Linked DNA regions of Homo sapiens: all the other regions are linked to region 1. Evidence: promoter capture Hi-C in human tissues and cell types (Jung and others, 2019). All regions are on one chromosome and are shown on one strand. The core of a region is centred on a gene start or on the middle of the fragment in contact, and the rest is flanking DNA. Distances in the headings are between cores, read along the strand shown.

Region 1 (2,700 bases), core at 164-2,663:
ACTGGGAACTGAATGAATGTGCAACTCTAATTACAGCCCCTCCGAAGTGCAGTGGCTTGGGAACCTCCCGTTCCGGGAGGCGGCCTGCAGAGCCCTCCTCCTACAAGTGTGAGCACAGGGTCAGGGTTCCATCCAAGCGAGCACCTGCTTCCTATTTTCCGACTAATTTCGGTCCCCTGATACGGAATCCGGGATCCTGCAGACAGGCAGCGGGTGACAGCAAGCACAAGGGTGTTCGATGACACCTGGAGAGGTCAGGAGAGCCAGTCCTGCGGTGCAGAGGAAGAAACCCAGCACAGAGGCCAACAGAGCCAGCCCCAGCCTCTGCCAATAAAACATATAAATGAGCCCTGGGGGCTGGAGGAGGGCCACAGGATCCAAGCTGGCTGCCGGATCCGAGTGGGATCGGGGTGCCGACTGTGGGACATGGGTGGGATGGGGTGCCGGCTGCGGGACTCGGGTGGGATCGGGGTGCGGGCTATAGGACTGGGGCGGGATCGGGGTGTCATCTATGGGATCGAGGTGCTGGCTATGGGACTGGGGTGGGATCGGGGTGCTGGCTATGGGACTGGGGTGGGATCGGGGTATCAGCTATGCTATGCGATCGGGGTGAGTGCCGGCTGTGGGATCGGGGTGCCGGCTGCGGGACTGGGGTGGGATCGGGGTGCCGGCTGTGGGACAGCGGTGGGATCGGGGTGGGTGCCAGCTGTTGGGCTGGGGTGGGATCGGGGTGCCAGCTGCGGGACTGGGGTGGGATCGGGGTGCCGGCCGTGGGACAGCGGTGGGACCGGGGTGTTAGCTATGGGATTGGGGTGGGTGCCGGCTGTTGGGCAGGGGTGGGATCGGGGTGTCGGCTGTGGGACTGCGATAGGATCGGGGTGCTGGTTGTGGGACTGGGGTGACAGCTTGAGGGGTGACCGAGCCCTCCCGGCCGCTCCCGGATGCCCCTCGCCCTCCACGCTGGGAGCGCCGTGGCTGGCTGAGCCTCTGGCATGTTCCGCGTGAGTCCGCGCACCCTACAGCGTCCTCCTCCACAGCCTCGTGTTCAGGCGTCCGCCCCGCAGGGGAGTCCCCTCGCGCCCATTCACACACAGCAGCGTCCGGGCGAGGAGCGCCCGTACCTGGAGGCCTGAAGGTACCGCCCTGCCGCGCGTGGGCACTGCTCCCTGGCGCCGTCCGTCCACTGACCATCGTCCCTCGGCCCGGCCGCCCGCGCGGGGCAGGCAACGCCCGACCGGGGGCCTCGGGGACCAGGAGGAACCTGCGGCGTTAGGAGCTGACAGTGTCGGTCCGCGCACGCGCCCCGGGGCCCGTCGGGCCTTATTTCACGGCCCCGCCTTCCTCCTCCGCGAGCGCCAAATAAGTGTCCGGCCCTCCCAGCCCCGTGCGTGCGCGGCCCCGCCGCCTGCGTCACTAGGAAGCGCGCGCCCGCGCCGCCGCCGCCGCCGAATCCCCAACAAGGAGCGAAGCCCGCGGCCGCCGCCGCCGCCCGCCGCCGCCGCAGCTCCCGACGCCGCCGCCCCCGCCGGGTGCCTAAGCAGGCCCGGCGCGGCCCCAGGTAAGCGGCGCCGGCGAGCCCGCGGCCCCCCCGCGGCGAGGCCTCTCGCTCCGCTCACGCGCCGCCGTCCAGTCAGGGGTCCCTGCGGAGCGTCAGGACGTTACGGCGGGGGGAGGGGAGGGCCGGGGGAGGGGCGGCCGCGCGGGCGGCGGCGTCAGGCGCAACGGCGGCGTCAGGCGGGCGGCGCGGGCGGTGGCGGGCGCGGGCGGCGGCGCTTCCTGCCTCCATCTTGGCGCCGCGGGCGGGCGCGGGCTCGGCCTCCAGCGGCCTCCTCGGTGGACCCATCCCGGGGGGACCACGCCGCAGGGGTGCGACCCGCAGGGACCACCCCGCAGGCACCCGACCCGCAGGGACGCGACCCACAGGGACCACCCCGCAGGCACCCGACCCGCAGGGGCCACCACGCGACCCGCAGGGGCCACCCCACAGGGACGCGACCCACAGGGACCACCCCACAGGGACGCGACCCACAAGGACCACCCCGCAGGCACCCGACCCGCAGGGACGCGATCCCCAGGGGCCACCCCGCAGGCACCCGACCCGCAGGGACGCGATCCCCAGGGGCCACCCCGCAGGCACCCGACCCGCAGGGACGCGATTCCCAGGGGCCACCCCGCAGGCACCCGACCCGCAGGGACGCGACCCATAGGGACCACCCCGCAGGCACCCGACCCGCAGGGGCCACCCGGCAGGCACCCAACTCGCAGGGACGCGACCCGCAGGGATCACCCCACTGGGACCCACTCTCAGGGACCTGACCTGCAGGGACCACCCCACAGGGGCCCGCGTCACTGTAGGCTCACAGGCGGGACCTGGATCTGTGTAGACCCATGGTGGTGTGGACCCTGTTGGTCGGAGCTGATTTGTTGTGGGCCCGTCGTCAGTCATGGCATGTTATCTATTTGGTTACTGTGTAATTCATGCGTGACTGAAAAGTCGTGACTGACTTTTCTGTTGAACCAGAATTCTCTTTCTTTGCTAACACTTCAAATACAACAGTTTCAATTACATCAGTGTTGACCGTGCCGGTCAAGAATACTAGTTTAAAAATATTTTCTTGGGCCAGGTGTGATGGCTCACACCTGTAATCCCACCACTTTGGGAGCCCGACGTGGGCGGATCATGAGGTCAGGAGTTTGAGA
Region 2 (2,700 bases), core at 112-2,611, 370 kb before region 1:
CTGTGACTTCTGCCAACTTCCTCTGGAAATATCCAGCCCCCAAAAACATTAATTCTCTGACAGAATTTCATGTGCCCAGGTAGGACCATGCCCTCTCTCACCCCTAGCCTCCAGATCACCAAGCTTTAGAAGGGATTTGGATGCAGCAACTGTTTTTTACTTTTGTTTTGAGATGGGTCTCATTCTGTTGCCCAGGCTGGATTCAGTGGCACAATCACAGCTCACTGCAGCCTCAACCTCCCAGGCTCAAGTGATCCTCCCACTTCAGCTTCTCAAGTTGCTGGGACCACAAGCGTGGGCCACCATGCCTGGCTAAGTTTTTATTTTTTGTAAAGACAGGTTCTCCCCAAGGCTGGTCTCAAACTCCTGGGCTCAAGTGATCCTCCCACCTCAGCCTCCCAAAGTGCTGAGATTACAGATGTGAGCCACTGTACCCAGCCCCAAAAATAGTTTTCTACTTCACTTAGAAAAATCAATTTAGGCCGGGCACGGTGGCTCATGCCTGTTAATCCCAGCACTTTGGGAGGCCAAAGCGGGCAGATCACCTGAGGTCGGGAGTTCGAGACCAGCCTGACCAACATGGAGAAACCCCATCTCTACTAAAAATACAAAATTAGCCGGGCATGGTGGCACATGCCTGTAATCCCAGCTACTAGGGAGGCTGAGGCAGGAGAATCGTTTGAACCTGGGAGGCGGAGGTTGCGGTGAGCTGAGATCGCGTCATTGCACTCCAGCCTGGGCAACAAGAGCCAAACTCCGTCTCAAAAAAAAAAAAAAAAGAAAAAGAAAAGAAAAATCAATTTATTGGATCTGTTCAACTTCACTAAAATGTAAATTATTCTCTCAAAGCCCAGGGGACACAGTTTAGAAAATCTTACGTATAAATGGGGCCAGACGTGGTGGCTCACGCCTGTAATCCCAGCCCTTTGGGAGGCTGAGGTGGGCAGATCACTAGAGTTCAGGAGTTTGAGACCAGCCTGGTACACATGGCGAAATCCTGTCTTTACTAAAAATACAAAAATTAGCTGGGTATGGTGGCAGGCACCTGTAATCCCAGCTACTTAGGAGGCTGAGGCACAAGAATTGCTTGAACCTAGGAGGTGAAGGTTGCAGTGAGCTGAGACCACGCCACTGCACTCCAGCCAGGGCAACAGAGCCAGACTGCCTCCAAAAAAAAAAAGAAAAAAGAAAAAAGAAAATCTTAGGTATAAATGGAGTCAAAATTACAAAGAAAATAAGTTCATTTGTCCTACCTTTTACAGTAGGGGAAGGGTTTTTTTTTACACACATATAATTAAACATACTGAAGCAAACACTTTCTTCTTCTAAGCAATGACCCCCTAAATTAAAAACGTAAAGTCTCATAAATTCCACGTAAGAGCAGTCTGAGTCTCTGCGGGTTAGGGTGAGAGCGTTAGAAACCGCACACCATTCACCGCTTCATCGGCTCACCTTGAGGTCTGAGAACTGCTGTTGGATTTTGGGGCGTTCCATACGATATTTCTCTATTTCTTCTTTCTCCCTTTGCTCCCTAGGAAATAAAACATGCACACATCAGAAACACTGCATGTCTGTTCTGAAGCAAATTTATTATCCATCTCAATTAAATCACCAAAAAGAACAATTCCATACTCTTAGTAGCTAAATCAAATATATATATATATATATACATATACACACACACACACACACACACACACACACACACACATTTTTTTTTTTGAGATGGAGTCTTGCTCTGTCACCCAGGCTAAAGTGCAGTGGCGCAATCTCAGCTCACTGCAACCTCCACCTCCTGGGTTTAAGTGATTTTCCTGCCTCAGCCTCCCAAGTAGCTGGGATTACAGGTGCTCGCCACCACTCCCAGCTAATTTTTGTGTTTTTAGTAGAGACGGGGTTTCACCATCCTGGCCAGGCTGTTCTCGAACTCCTGACCTTGTGATCTACCCACCTTGGCCTCCCAAAGTGCTGGGATTACAGGTGTGAGCCACCGCACCCAGCCCAAATCAAATATATTTTAAGGTAACTATGAATACATTCTTAGCTGGGCATGGTAGCACACACCTGTAATCACAGCTACTTGGGAGGCTGAGGCAGAATCATTTGAACCCAGGAGGCAGAGGGTGCAGTGAGCCAAGATCGCACCACTGCACTCCAGCCTGGGCAACACAGAGAGACTCTGCCTCTAAATAAATAAATATAAATACATTCGTAAGTCTACTAATTCAATTATCCACCAAATAAAAACATGTAGAAATTCATTAAAATAAAAAAAAAAGATCTTACTTTGATCTAAATACCTCCATTTGGACATGTGTATATTTACTGCTTGAAAATTCACAAAATCCCAAAGGTAGGACCATCCCATAAACACCTAAGAAGGCCAGGCGTGGTGGCTTACACCTGTAATCCCAACGCTTTGGGAGGCCGAGGTGGGCAGATCACCTGAGGTCAGGAGTTCAAGCCTGGCCAATGTGGTAAAACCCCATCTATACTAAAAATATGAAAATTAGCCAGGCGTGGTGGCGCATGCCTGTTATCCCAGCTACTCAGGAGGCTGAGGTAGGAGAATTGCTTGAACCTGGGAGGTGGAAGTTGCAGGGAGCCAAGATCATGCCATTGCACTCCAGCCTGGGTGACAAGAGTGAAACTTCGTCTCAAAAAAATAAAAATAAAAATAAAAATTAGCTGGGCATGGTG
Region 3 (2,700 bases), core at 120-2,619, 310 kb before region 1:
CCCCGGCCATCCCCAGGCTTGGGCAGCGGGGCGGGACGGGACAGCCAAGAGACACTGAGCCAGCTTTGCCCCCCACCCCCCTCTCTTGAGGGGCCGCGCACCACCTCGGGGAGGAGCCAGGGCGGGGCCTGACCCCACAAAGCTTTAGTTCCCCCGGGGAGAGGCTGGGGACAAGCTACCCATTCTGGGGTATGACACCTATCAGCACGTGTGAGCCCGCCCTGTGCCCGGCCCACTTCTGCTTCCTCTTAGCGCAGGAGGGGTCCCGCACTGGGAGGGGCCCTCACAGCCTACCCCGCTAGCTTTCTGCCTGATGGTGAGCTTGCCCCGTTGTTCGCCGCCATCTTTCGCCTTTGCCTGACAGCTCAGGTAGGGCGACGTCTCCCCCCAGCTCAGCCCCAGGCAGAAGTCAGGCCCGCTCTGCACCTCGTGCTGTGCCTGGCCCGTGTGTTCCCCTCACAGTGACGCACAGCCGTCCTGTGGGGAGGGAGGGCTCTGGGAAAAGACCCCCTTCTTGAGTGTTCCCCATCGGTTTGTCCCCAGGGCTGCGCTGGCCTCGGCACACCAGTGCCACCCGCTGCCCCGGACGCTGAGCGTCCTGAAGAGCACGCCGCAGGTACGGGGCATGCACACCATCATCAGGTGAGGGCCCACCTGGGGACGGGGCGGCCCCGGGCGCGTGCTCCCGCTCAACTGTTGGCCCCACAGGGACAAGGAGACCAGTCGCGACGAGTTCATCTTCTACTCCAAGAGACTGATGCGGCTGCTCATCGAGCACGCGCTCTCCTTCCTGCCCTTTCAGGTTCGTAGCCCGTAGCCCGCGAGGTGGAGGGTGGGTCTTGGAGCCGGTGCGAGCTCCCTGCGCTCACCGGAGTCCTCACCCTGCACCCCACAGGACTGCGTCGTACAGACCCCGCAGGGGCAGGACTATGCGGGCAAGTGCTATGCGGGGAAGCAGGTACCTGCCTGGGCACACCTGGGCGCGGGACAGGCTGCTGGGGCGGGATGTGGGCGCTTAGCCTCCCCTCCCCGCAGATCACCGGTGTGTCCATTCTGCGCGCCGGTGAAACCATGGAGCCCGCGCTGCGCGCTGTGTGCAAAGACGTGCGCATCGGCACCATCCTCATCCAGACCAACCAGCTTACCGGGGAGCCCGAGGTGCCTGGGGGCAGCCGGGGTGATGAGCCCGGGGGTAGGGGGCAGAGGGAGCTCACAGCAAGGGGACGCAGGGAGCCCCACCTGCAGCCTGACCCCTGCTGCCCGCAGCTCCACTACCTGAGGCTGCCCAAGGACATCAGCGATGACCACGTGATCCTCATGGACTGCACCGTGTCCACGGGCGCGGCGGCCATGATGGCAGTGCGCGTGCTCCTGGTGAGTGAGCCCTGGGTAGGCGGGGCAGGTTCAGGCAGAGGTGGGATTTACCTGCCCAATACACTCGGTAGGACCACGACGTGCCTGAGGACAAGATCTTTTTGCTGTCGCTGCTCATGGCAGAGATGGGCGTGCACTCAGTGGCCTATGCATTTCCGCGAGTGAGAATCATCACCACGGCGGTGGACAAGCGGGTCAATGACCTTTTCCGCATCATCCCAGGCATTGGTGAGGCTGCCCGGGCCCTTCAGCCGCACATGAGGGCAGGGTGGGTGGCCCTGGGAGGCCCCACCACACTGGACCCCCCCCCCCCTTTTTCCAGGGAACTTTGGCGACCGCTACTTTGGGACAGACGCGGTCCCCGATGGCAGTGACGAGGAGGAAGTGGCCTACACGGGTTAGCTGCCCAGTGAGCCATCCCGTCCCCACCACCCTCCTCCTGCCTCCTGACCCAGGACTGCTGAATACAAAGATGTTAATTTTTAAAATGTTACTAGTATAATTTATTCTATGCATTTTATAAAATAAATAAAGCTTTAGAAAAATGAAGGTGTGATTGGTTACAGCACAGGAGAGGTGTCCTGGCTGAGGCATGCATTTGTGGAGACTCCCATGGGGAGGGAGGGAGGGAGCTGAGGGCCCTGCCTTCTCCCCTGCAGGACCAAGCATTCCCAGTCTTGCACTTGTGCCAGATGAAGGAAGGGGTAGAACTGGGCCCTGCAGCTCCTAGCTCTGCTAGATGGGGCCCCTAGAACCCATAGCTTGGTGGCCACCTGGCCTGGACCTAGGGAGGGGACAGGGCCCCCTGGTGCTCTGGGTCTCACAAGAGGCAGGCTGTTTTGCCCCCACCCACAAATTTGTACCATCAGGGTCCTCCCCACAGTTGGGGGGGGGGAGGGTCCTTCCCGTCAGGACAAGTCGCTGGAGGCAGCAAAGCCAGGAGGCAGACCAGGGCGGAAGTGGGGGCCTGCGCTTGGAGGCGGGGCCACCCGGGGCCCACGAGCCCGGAGCCACTGCTGCTCAGGGCCCGCCTCGCTCACCCCTCCAGACCTGGAGGCCCACCCGCATCCCGTGCTCTCTGCCGTGCCCACGCCCGCAAGCGTGGGTTCCCTTAGGTCCTGCCCACCCTGCTTTCCGAGCAGGCCCCCCCCGGGCTCCCCGAGAGGAGTCGCCGCCGTGGTTTACTGAGGAAGAGGAGGTGCACGCGCGGCGCCCACACGTCGGGCCCCGGAGAGGCCCAGATAACTGAATCAGCCTCCCGGGGCTCAGCCGTGGAGCTGAGGGCTGATGCTGGGGACTCAGCCGTGGGCCAGGCGCATCTGACAC
Region 4 (2,700 bases), core at 22-2,521, 430 kb before region 1:
GGCCTCACTTCACCACCACCCCACCCCCAAGCCCCAGGGAGGTCCAGGTGGTTCCCAGCAAGAGCCACAGCTGCCCCCCAGGACTGTGAAGTGGCCGAGGTGAGAAGGTGGCCAGTCCTAGAGAGTGGCCTCGTTTGTGAGGGCTGTGGCGGCGACCAACCCTGAAACTCCCCAGTGCCCCTGGTCCCGGGTCCCTCAGGAGCTCTGGACTTCTGGGACCTTGCTCAGAGCATTCTCGCCCCCCAGCAGACCCCTCCTGGAGCTTACCGACCTCCGGACTTCCTCCTCCACGGAGCTTCCCCAGCAAGCTGCTCAGGGCCGCCAGACGCTCCCGGGCCCTCAGAATTTGCACCCAGAGGCTGACAGCATCAGAACCATCGATTCTCCTGTGGGGCCTCGCCGCAGGGTGCTGCTCCAGCCCCTACTCCCGCCCTCGGCAGCTGAAGAACTTTCCCTCCCCTGTGCGCAGGCACACATGCACACGCACACACGCAGGCGGGAGCCTCGCACACACGGGGAGCCACTGCGGACTGGTTGGCGAGTGTCTGTCTCTCACCCGGCCCAGAGGCAAGGCCTGGATCCCTCAGCCGCGTTAGGGCTACGGTTAATGTTCGGTTTCGGTTAAACCCTGAGAACAGGCGGAAATGCACGTAGCCTGAAGGGTGGCTCACAGCGGAGGCAGTGCCCACGGAGGAGAGGGACGTTCACTCACCCGCTCCAGGCGCTGGTCCTGGGAGCCACAGCCACATGACGTGCAGGTGGAGGGGAGAGGCCTCCTGACTAGGAGCTGCCACAGGGTGAGGAGTGCCTCACTCCCCTTCACGGACCCAGCGGCCGCACGACACCAGGCTAGGTCTCTGTGGTCACCTGCAGCCAGCCTCACCGGGGGCCGAGCCCCAGCAAACAGGAGGGTTCCATCTCCTCCTCCAGGGTGTCCTCCACACTCGACGTCTTTATGGACAGGGACATATGGATAGGCCTTTAGGAATTCTCTGTGGGCAACGGGGCCCTGTCCTGAGGGCTCTAAGGGGGAGATGTGACCCACCTTGGAGGTCTGAGGGGGCAGCCCTGGCCCCAACAGGCGTCTGGGGAGAAACCCCTGGTCCACCCCACAGGGCCAGCCGCACCTTTGGCCCAAAGGCCTGCCCCTCCCCCATCCTGAGTCCAGGAAACGTCGGAAACTCAGGCCATTTATTTTTCTATTTGTGTCCCCTGCCCCCTGCCCGCCCAAAGCCGGCCATGACCCCAGTGGCCGCTATCCATGCTTCCCCTCTGGCTGAGGCAGCGCCGTGGTGGGAAGGCTCCCGCTGCCAAACTCACACGGAGCCCCCCTTGCTTCCTGCAACCACAGAGCGGGGGCTGGGGATCCTGCAGCCCCAGGAGCCCCCACCCCCTGCCACCCCATGGGCAGCCCTCCCACAGCCCAAGCACCTAGGAGCCGTCTCTGCGCCCCTTTCCATCAGACCCTCCAGCCCACCTTGGGGGCTCTGCCGAGCTGTGACCCCAGTGGACCCCACCCAGGCCTCCCTTGGATGCCCCCACCAGCAGGGCAGCGACGGGGCTTAGGTCCAGCAAGTGCTCCCCTGTCCCATGCGCCAGCAGAGGAGGGCAGGGGATGGGGACTGGGCCCACTGCTCCTGGCTATGCCACTGCAGCACCCGGCTCTCTGGACCTCAGTCGCCCAGTCTGTAGAATGGGAAGAGCCACCTGCCCAGGGCAGCGTCTCTCGGAAAGTCCCCAGCCCAGCCCATAGCCTTGGCCCAGTCCCAGCTCCCTCCCACAGAAGCAACGCTGGGGGAGGCAAGAGGCATCCCCAGAGGCCAGTGGCGGCCCTGGCGGCCTGCTCCAGGCTTGCTCTAACAATGCACTTCCCCCACACAATTCCCAGAAATGCAGCCCTGCCAGCCCGCCAGCCTGGCGGCCACTCCACCCTCCCCTTCCCCAGAGGCCCCAGGCAGCCGTGGGGTCGGGGCTATGGGTGAAGCCTAGAGACCTGACTCACAGGGCAGCAAAACCAGGGTTCCCTGAGGCGGCACCTCCCAGGGGCCCAGGCCTCCCAGAGAGAGACCAGGGAGACTCCTGGGGCAGCCAGATGGGGTCTGAGAGCAAACCTTGGCCAGGCTCCCGCCGCGGCAGAAGCAGAGCCCCCTGCCTTCTGGCAGGGGACTGCCCGTCCCTCCTGCCCCGCACAGCCCCGTCTTCACGTAGCAGCTGAGCTGAGGCAGATCACACTCCACTCAGAACCTCCCAAGGTCCCACCTCACTCAGAAAATGCAAGACCCTCCCAGAGCCAACTCAGCCCCTTGTTCCCTCTGAGCCTCATCCCCTCCTCTCTGCACCCCCTGCTCTGCTCACACCAGCAGACTTCCCTGCCCCAGGGCCTTGGCACATGCTCCTCCCTCTGTGAAAAGACTCCTCCCATGAACCCCCAAGGGCAAAAGCCACGTGTGGCCCTGACACAGCCCCTCCCTATACCTGATGAACCCCCAAGGGCAAAAGCCATGTGTGGCCCTGACACAGCCCCCCTCCCTACACCTGGCACCCCAAGTTCTGGCTTGTTTGTGGATTTGTTTTTGGTTAGGTTTGTTTTGTTTCGTTTTTGTTTTTTGAAACAGTCTTCCTCTGTCGCCCAGGCTGGAGTGCAGTGGTGCGATCTCGGCTCACTGCAACCTCCACCTCCCGGGCTCAAGCAATTCGTGT
Region 5 (2,700 bases), core at 144-2,643, 290 kb before region 1:
TATAGGTGCAAGCCACTGCTCCTCACCAAAATGTGACTTATTCTTTTTTTTTTCTTTTTTGAGACAGAGTCTCACTCTGTTGCCCAGGCTGGAGTGCAGTGGTGCAATCTCAGCTCACTGCAACCTCCACCTTCCAGGCTCAAGCGATTCTCCTGCCGTAGCCTCCTGAATAGCTGGGACTACAGGCACGTACCACCACGCCTGGCTAATTTTTGTATTTTTAGTAGAGATTGGGTTTTGCCATGTTGGCTAGGCTGGTCTGGAACTCCTGACCTCAGGTGAGCCACCCGCCTCAGCCTCCCAAAGTGCTGGGGATTACAGGCATGAGCCACCATGTCCGGCTAAAACCTAGATTTTTAGAAAGGAATGAAGACCACTGGAAATGGTAAATACCTAGGTAAAACACCATTTTTTGCTTTTTTGTTTGTTTGGAGACAGGGTCTTGCTCTGTCACCCAGGCTGGAATGCAGTGGTGTGATAAGGGATCATGGCAGCCTCAACCTCTCAGACTCAAGTGATCCTCCCAACACAGCCTCCTGAATAGGTGGGACTACAGGCGTGAGCCACCATGCCAGCTAAGTTTTTAGAAATTTTTTGCAGAGACGGGGTCTATGTTGCTCAGGCTGATCTTGAATTCCTTGGCTCAAGTGATCCTCCTGCCTTGGGTCATGGTCACCAAAGTGCCGAGATCACAGGAGCCAACCCTTTCTGATGTCTATTTTTTTTTTTTTTTTGAGACAGAGTCTCACTCTGTCACCCAAACTGGATGGAGTGCAATGGTGCAATCTTGGCTCCATGCACCCTCCACCACCCAGGTTCAAGCGATTCTCCTGCCTCAGCCTGCCAAGTGGCTGGGATTACAGGCGCGCGCCACCACACCCAGCTAATTTTTTTGTATTTTTAGTACAGATGGGCTTCACCATGTTGGCCAGGATAGTCTTGAACTCCTGACCTCAGGTGACCCGCCTGCCTCGGCCTCTCGAAGTGCTGGGATTACAGGCGTGAGCCACCAACCTGGACTGCCTATTTCCTTGGGGTAATGAGTCCGGGAGTTTGCCACCTGATGTTTGAAGTAGCACCTCACAACTTCATTCTTCCTAAACTTGGTTTAAATTTCAAGGGGGCCGGGAGTGGTGGCTCACGCCTGTAATTCCAGCACTTTGGGAGGCTGAGGTGGTTGAATCACCTGAGATCAAGAGTTTGAGACCAGCCTGGCCAACGTGGTGAAACCTCATCTCTACTACAAATACAAAAATTAGCTGGGTGTGACGGTGTGCATCTGTAATCCCAGCTAGTTGGGAGGCTGAGGCAGGAGGATGGCTTGAACCCGGGAGGAGGAGGTTGCAGTGAACTGAAATTGCACCACTGGACGTCAGCCTGGGTGACAGAGTGAGACCCTGTCTCCAAAAAAAAAACTTTCAAGGGGATCCCATGTCAACAGAAAGGTTATAACACAGTTAAAGGAGAGGCCTGGTGTGCAGCCGCAGCTACACGAGCAGCACGTGCTGCAACCTGCTGCAAGTGACGAGCTGCCATCAGCGTTATTCGCAGTCTTCATTTCTGGAGGGCTAAGTTCCAACCTTCAGTCAGAACTCTTTTTTTTTTTTTTTGAGACGGAGTCTCGCTCTGTCTCCCAGGCTGGAGTGCAGTGGCACTATCTCGGCTTGCTGCAAGCTCCGCCTCCCGGGTTCACGCCATTCTTCTGCCTCAGCCTCCTGAGTAGCTGGGACTACAGGCACCCGCCACCACGCCCGGCTAATTTTTTGCAGTTTTAGTAGAGACGGGGTTTCACCGTGTTAGCCAGGATGGTCTTGATCACCACACCTCGTGATCCACCAGCCTCGGCCTCCCAAAGTGCTGGGATTACAGGTGTGAGCCACCAGGCCCGGCCTCAGTCAGAACTCTTTTAGTGACATCATTATCTTTAAAAAGCAAACAAGGTGGCCGGGCACGGTGGCTCAAGCTTGTAATCCCAAAACTTTGGGAGGCTGAGGAGGGCGGATCACCTGAGGTCAGGAGTTTGAGGCCAGCCTGACCAACATGGAGAAACCCCATCTCTACTAAAAATGCAAAATTAGCCGGGCGTGATGGCACATGCCTGTAATCCCACCTACTCAGGAGGCTGAGGTAGAAGAATCACTTGAACCCGGGAGGTGGAGTTTGCAGCGAGCTGAGACCGTGCCGTTGCACTCCAGTCTGCGTAACAATAGTGAAACTCCGTCTCAAAACAAAACAAAATAAAAAAAAGCAAACAAGGCTTTGGGAGGCTGAGGCAGGTGGATTGCTTCTTGTGGCCAGGAGTTCGAGACCAGCCTGACCAACATGGAGAAAACCTGTCTCTACTAAAAATACAAAATTAACTGGGTGTGGTGGCACACACCTGTAATCCCAGCTACTCAGGAGGCTGAGGCAGGAGAATCGCTTGAACCCTCGAGGGGGAGGTTGCAGTGAGCCGAGATCTCACCACTGCACTCCAGCCTGGGTGACAGAGTCAGACTCAGTCTCAAAAATAAATAAATAAATAAAAATTAAAAATTAAAAGCAAACAAAAAGGGTCACGTTTTACAAATCCAGCGTATCCCAGTCCGTTCTGCTGGCAGCAGCCCCAGGGCCCGCACACATGCCTAGGCAGACAAGACCGCACACGTGCAGGGACGCTGAGCTTCTGAAATGGCGGGGACCCGTGTCCTCCCTCCCTAC
Region 6 (2,700 bases), core at 199-2,698, 490 kb before region 1:
CTCAGGACCTCTCGAAACCGTGTTCTCCAGGCTTTCCCAGGACCTCTCGAAACTGTGTTCTCCAGGCTTTCTCAGGACCTCTCGAAACTGTTCTCCAGGCTTTCTCAGGAAACTCGAAACTGTGTTCTCCAGGCTTTCCCAGGACCTCTCGAAACCATGTTCTCCAGGCTTTCTCAGGACCTCTCGAAACCGTGTTCTCCAGGCTTTCTCAGGACCTCTCGAAATCGTGTTCTCCAGGCTTTCTCAGGACCTCTCGAAACCGTGTTCTCCAGGCTTTCCCAGGAGCTCTCGAAACCGTGTTCTCCAGGCTTTCTCAGCACCTCTCGAAACTGTGTTCTCCAGGCTTTCTAAGGAAACTCAAAACTGTGTTCTCCAGGCTTTCTCAGGACCTCTCGAAACTGTTCTCCAGGCTTTCTCAGGAAACTCGAAACTGTGTTCTCCAGGCTTTCTCAGAACCTCTCGAAACTGTTTTCTCCAGGCCATGGTCATTCATATTGACTCAGAATAAACCTCTTTAAAATATTTTACAGAATCTGTTTTTTTCCATTAACGTTATTGAGTTTTGAGAGTTCTTGATATACTCTGGATACAAGTCCTTTATCAAATATGTGATTTGCAAAAATTGTCTTACAGCCTTGGGCTTGTCTTTTCATTTTCTTAGCAGTGTCTTTGGAATAGCAGAAGTTCTTAGTTTTGATGAAACATCTTATTTATTTGATGGATTATGTTTTGATATCCTATCTAATAATGTTTTGCCTGATCTAAGTTTGCAAAGGTTTTCTTCTATGTCCTCTTATAGAAGTTTTATAATTTTAGCTTTTACATTTAGGTTTATGATCCATATTGACAATATTTTAATATAGTACAAGGTATGGATCAAAGTTCATTTTTTTGCATATGGATATCCAACTGTTTAGCATCATTTACTGAGAACAAAACTTGCCTTTATTGAATTGCCTTTGCAGCTTTGTTGAAAATCACTTGCTCATATTTGTGGGTCTATTTCTGGTATCTCTAATTTGTTCTATTGATCTGTCTATCTTGATGCAAATACCACACTGTCTTTTTTTAAAATATTATTTCTTTTATCATGATACTTCTCTTTCTTCTTTCTTTTTTTTTTTTTTTTTGACAGTGTCTCACTCCGTCACCCAGGCTGGAGTGCAGTAGTGAGATCTCAGCTCACTGCAACCTCCGCCTCCCAGGATCAAGTGATTCTCGTGCCTCAGCCTCCTGAGTAGCTGGAATTACAGGTGTGTGCCACCACGCCTGGCTACATTTTTTGTATTTTTAGTAGAGACGGGGTTTCACCATGTTGGCCAGGCTGATCTCAAACTCCTGACCTCAAGTGATCCACCCACCTCAGCCTCCCCAGGAGCTGAGAACTCTGGCAGGGAGACTCTGTGGTGTAGGAACCCCAGGTCTCCAGCCATGTCTGAAAAACAGTGTTAACCCACGGCTTCACCCCAGCTTTGAAACACCTGGGTGTTCTTCAGAAATACCTGCTATAGTTTGGACGTTTGTCCCCGAACCTCATGTTGAAATTTAATCCCCGATGTTGGAGGCGGGGCCTGGTGGGAGGTGTTCGGGTCATAGGGAAGGATCCAGAATGAATGGTTTAGTGCCCTCCTCATGGTGATGAGTGAGTTCTTGCTCTATTAGTTCCCACACGAGCTGGTTGTTTTAAAAAAATCCTGGCATCGCCCCTCTCTCTCGCCTCTTCTCTTACCATGAGACACCTCCCGCCATGAGTGCACGCTCCCTGAGGCCTCCCCAGAAGCAGGTGCCGGCACCGTGCTTCCCGTACACCCTGCAGAACCGTGAGCCAAACAAACCTCTTTTCTTTATAATGGCCCAGCCTCTATCCTTCTCCTCACCTAGGAAAAAGAAAAAGAAATTACCCAGCCTCAGATATTCCTTCATAGCAACACAAAACTAGGACAACACTGGTGCCCAGGCCCCAGCCCAGACCAAGCACATCAGAGCCTGGGCATGGGGGTGGAACCAGCTCCAGTGAGCTCCTGAAGTCCCCAGGGGATTCTGTGCACATCCAGGGTGGAGAACTTGGCCGTAGACAGTCCAGACAAAAATATTCTTTATACGATTAGCACAGAGTTGTTGTTTAAACTCAGTGGTAAGAACAGAACACAAGAGTTTTAACAGGAGTCATAGTTTTCACCATTAAGAATCTTTACCTACTATTGGAATCCAGGTACACACATTTACCCTGGGGTTTAATTTGCTGTGTAAAATTGACTTGGTTCTTTTACAAATTGCTGGCAAGTTGAGGTTGGGGCCACCACAAAACAAGTCTCTAGCAAGACAAAGAGCATAGTTGTGTGTTTGGGTCTCTCCACACCAGAATGGAGCTCCTTGTGGGCAGAGGCTGGCTTGCCCCTTGTCTTAGTCTGTTTCCTGCTGCTTATAACAGAAACTGGGTAATTTAAAAGAAACAAAATGTATTTCTTACAGTTCTGCGGGCTGGGAAGTCCAAGGTCAATGGGCCACATCTGGTGAGGTTTTCTTGCTGGTGGGAACCCCAGAGTCCCAAGGCAGTGCAGGGCGTCGCATGGTGAGGGGCTGAGCGTGCTGGCTCAGGTCTCTCTCTTCTTATAAAGCTACTAGCCCCACTCCTATGATAACCCATTAATCTATAAATAAATTAATCTATTCATGAGGGCAGAGCTCTTGTGACCCAAT

What was found. Contacts are between HindIII fragments. The study calls those that stand out against the background at their distance.
Region 2: a fragment that was not itself captured here is called in contact with the fragment with the promoter of GMEB2 in region 1 in 2 of the 25 tissues and cell types used here (dorsolateral prefrontal cortex and spleen).
Region 3: a contact is called between a fragment that was not itself captured here and the fragment with the promoter of GMEB2 in region 1, in 5 of the 25 tissues and cell types used here (H1 embryonic stem cells, dorsolateral prefrontal cortex, lymphoblastoid cells and 2 more).
Region 4: a fragment that was not itself captured here is called in contact with the fragment with the promoter of GMEB2 in region 1 in 2 of the 25 tissues and cell types used here (dorsolateral prefrontal cortex and lymphoblastoid cells).
Region 5: a fragment that was not itself captured here is called in contact with the fragment with the promoter of GMEB2 in region 1 in 2 of the 25 tissues and cell types used here (dorsolateral prefrontal cortex and lymphoblastoid cells).
Region 6: a fragment that was not itself captured here is called in contact with the fragment with the promoter of GMEB2 in region 1 in 1 of the 25 tissues and cell types used here (dorsolateral prefrontal cortex).

What each region holds. Positions count from the first base shown.
Region 1 is chr20:63,625,814-63,628,513 of GRCh38, reverse strand. It overlaps GMEB2 (glucocorticoid modulatory element binding protein 2), which reads left to right and starts at 1,413. Exons shown (of 10, transcript NM_012384.5): 1 at 1,413-1,558. MHENCR (melanoma highly expressed competing endogenous lncRNA for miR-425 and miR-489) reads right to left here and starts at 1,279. Exons shown (of 2, transcript NR_132417.1): 1 at 1,122-1,279; 2 at 1-324. RefSeq lists silencers at 972-1,421, 1,512-2,051. The HindIII fragment of the contact is 46,766 bases long and covers 1-2,700 here.
Region 2 is chr20:63,992,238-63,994,937 of GRCh38, reverse strand. PRPF6 (pre-mRNA processing factor 6) reads right to left here. Exons shown (of 21, transcript NM_012469.4): 4 at 1,453-1,531; 5 at 1-22. Among named protein-coding and RNA genes, the nearest start is that of PRPF6, 12 kb to the right of the region's middle. The HindIII fragment of the contact is 7,819 bases long and covers 1-2,700 here.
Region 3 is chr20:63,939,052-63,941,751 of GRCh38, reverse strand. UCKL1 (uridine-cytidine kinase 1 like 1) reads left to right here. Exons shown (of 15, transcript NM_017859.4): 9 at 544-642; 10 at 709-802; 11 at 896-958; 12 at 1,036-1,158; 13 at 1,267-1,374; 14 at 1,446-1,602; 15 at 1,697-1,923. The coding sequence ends at 1,776. MIR1914 (microRNA 1914) reads left to right here and starts at 208; the gene lies at 208-287. The HindIII fragment of the contact is 6,155 bases long and covers 1-2,700 here.
Region 4 is chr20:64,055,223-64,057,922 of GRCh38, reverse strand. It overlaps a transcript of TCEA2 not described here. Among named protein-coding and RNA genes, the nearest start is that of TCEA2, 6.6 kb to the left of the region's middle. RefSeq lists enhancers at 1-153, 154-843, 1,534-2,223, 2,224-2,700. The HindIII fragment of the contact is 6,157 bases long and covers 1-2,700 here.
Region 5 is chr20:63,920,501-63,923,200 of GRCh38, reverse strand. All of the region lies in intron 1 of DNAJC5 (DnaJ heat shock protein family (Hsp40) member C5), which reads right to left. Among named protein-coding and RNA genes, the nearest start is that of MIR941-5, 2.0 kb to the right of the region's middle. The HindIII fragment of the contact is 6,938 bases long and covers 1-2,700 here.
Region 6 is chr20:64,120,834-64,123,533 of GRCh38, reverse strand. No RefSeq gene overlaps it. Among named protein-coding and RNA genes, the nearest start is that of NPBWR2, 15 kb to the right of the region's middle. RefSeq lists an enhancer at 1-420. The HindIII fragment of the contact is 5,841 bases long and covers 1-2,700 here.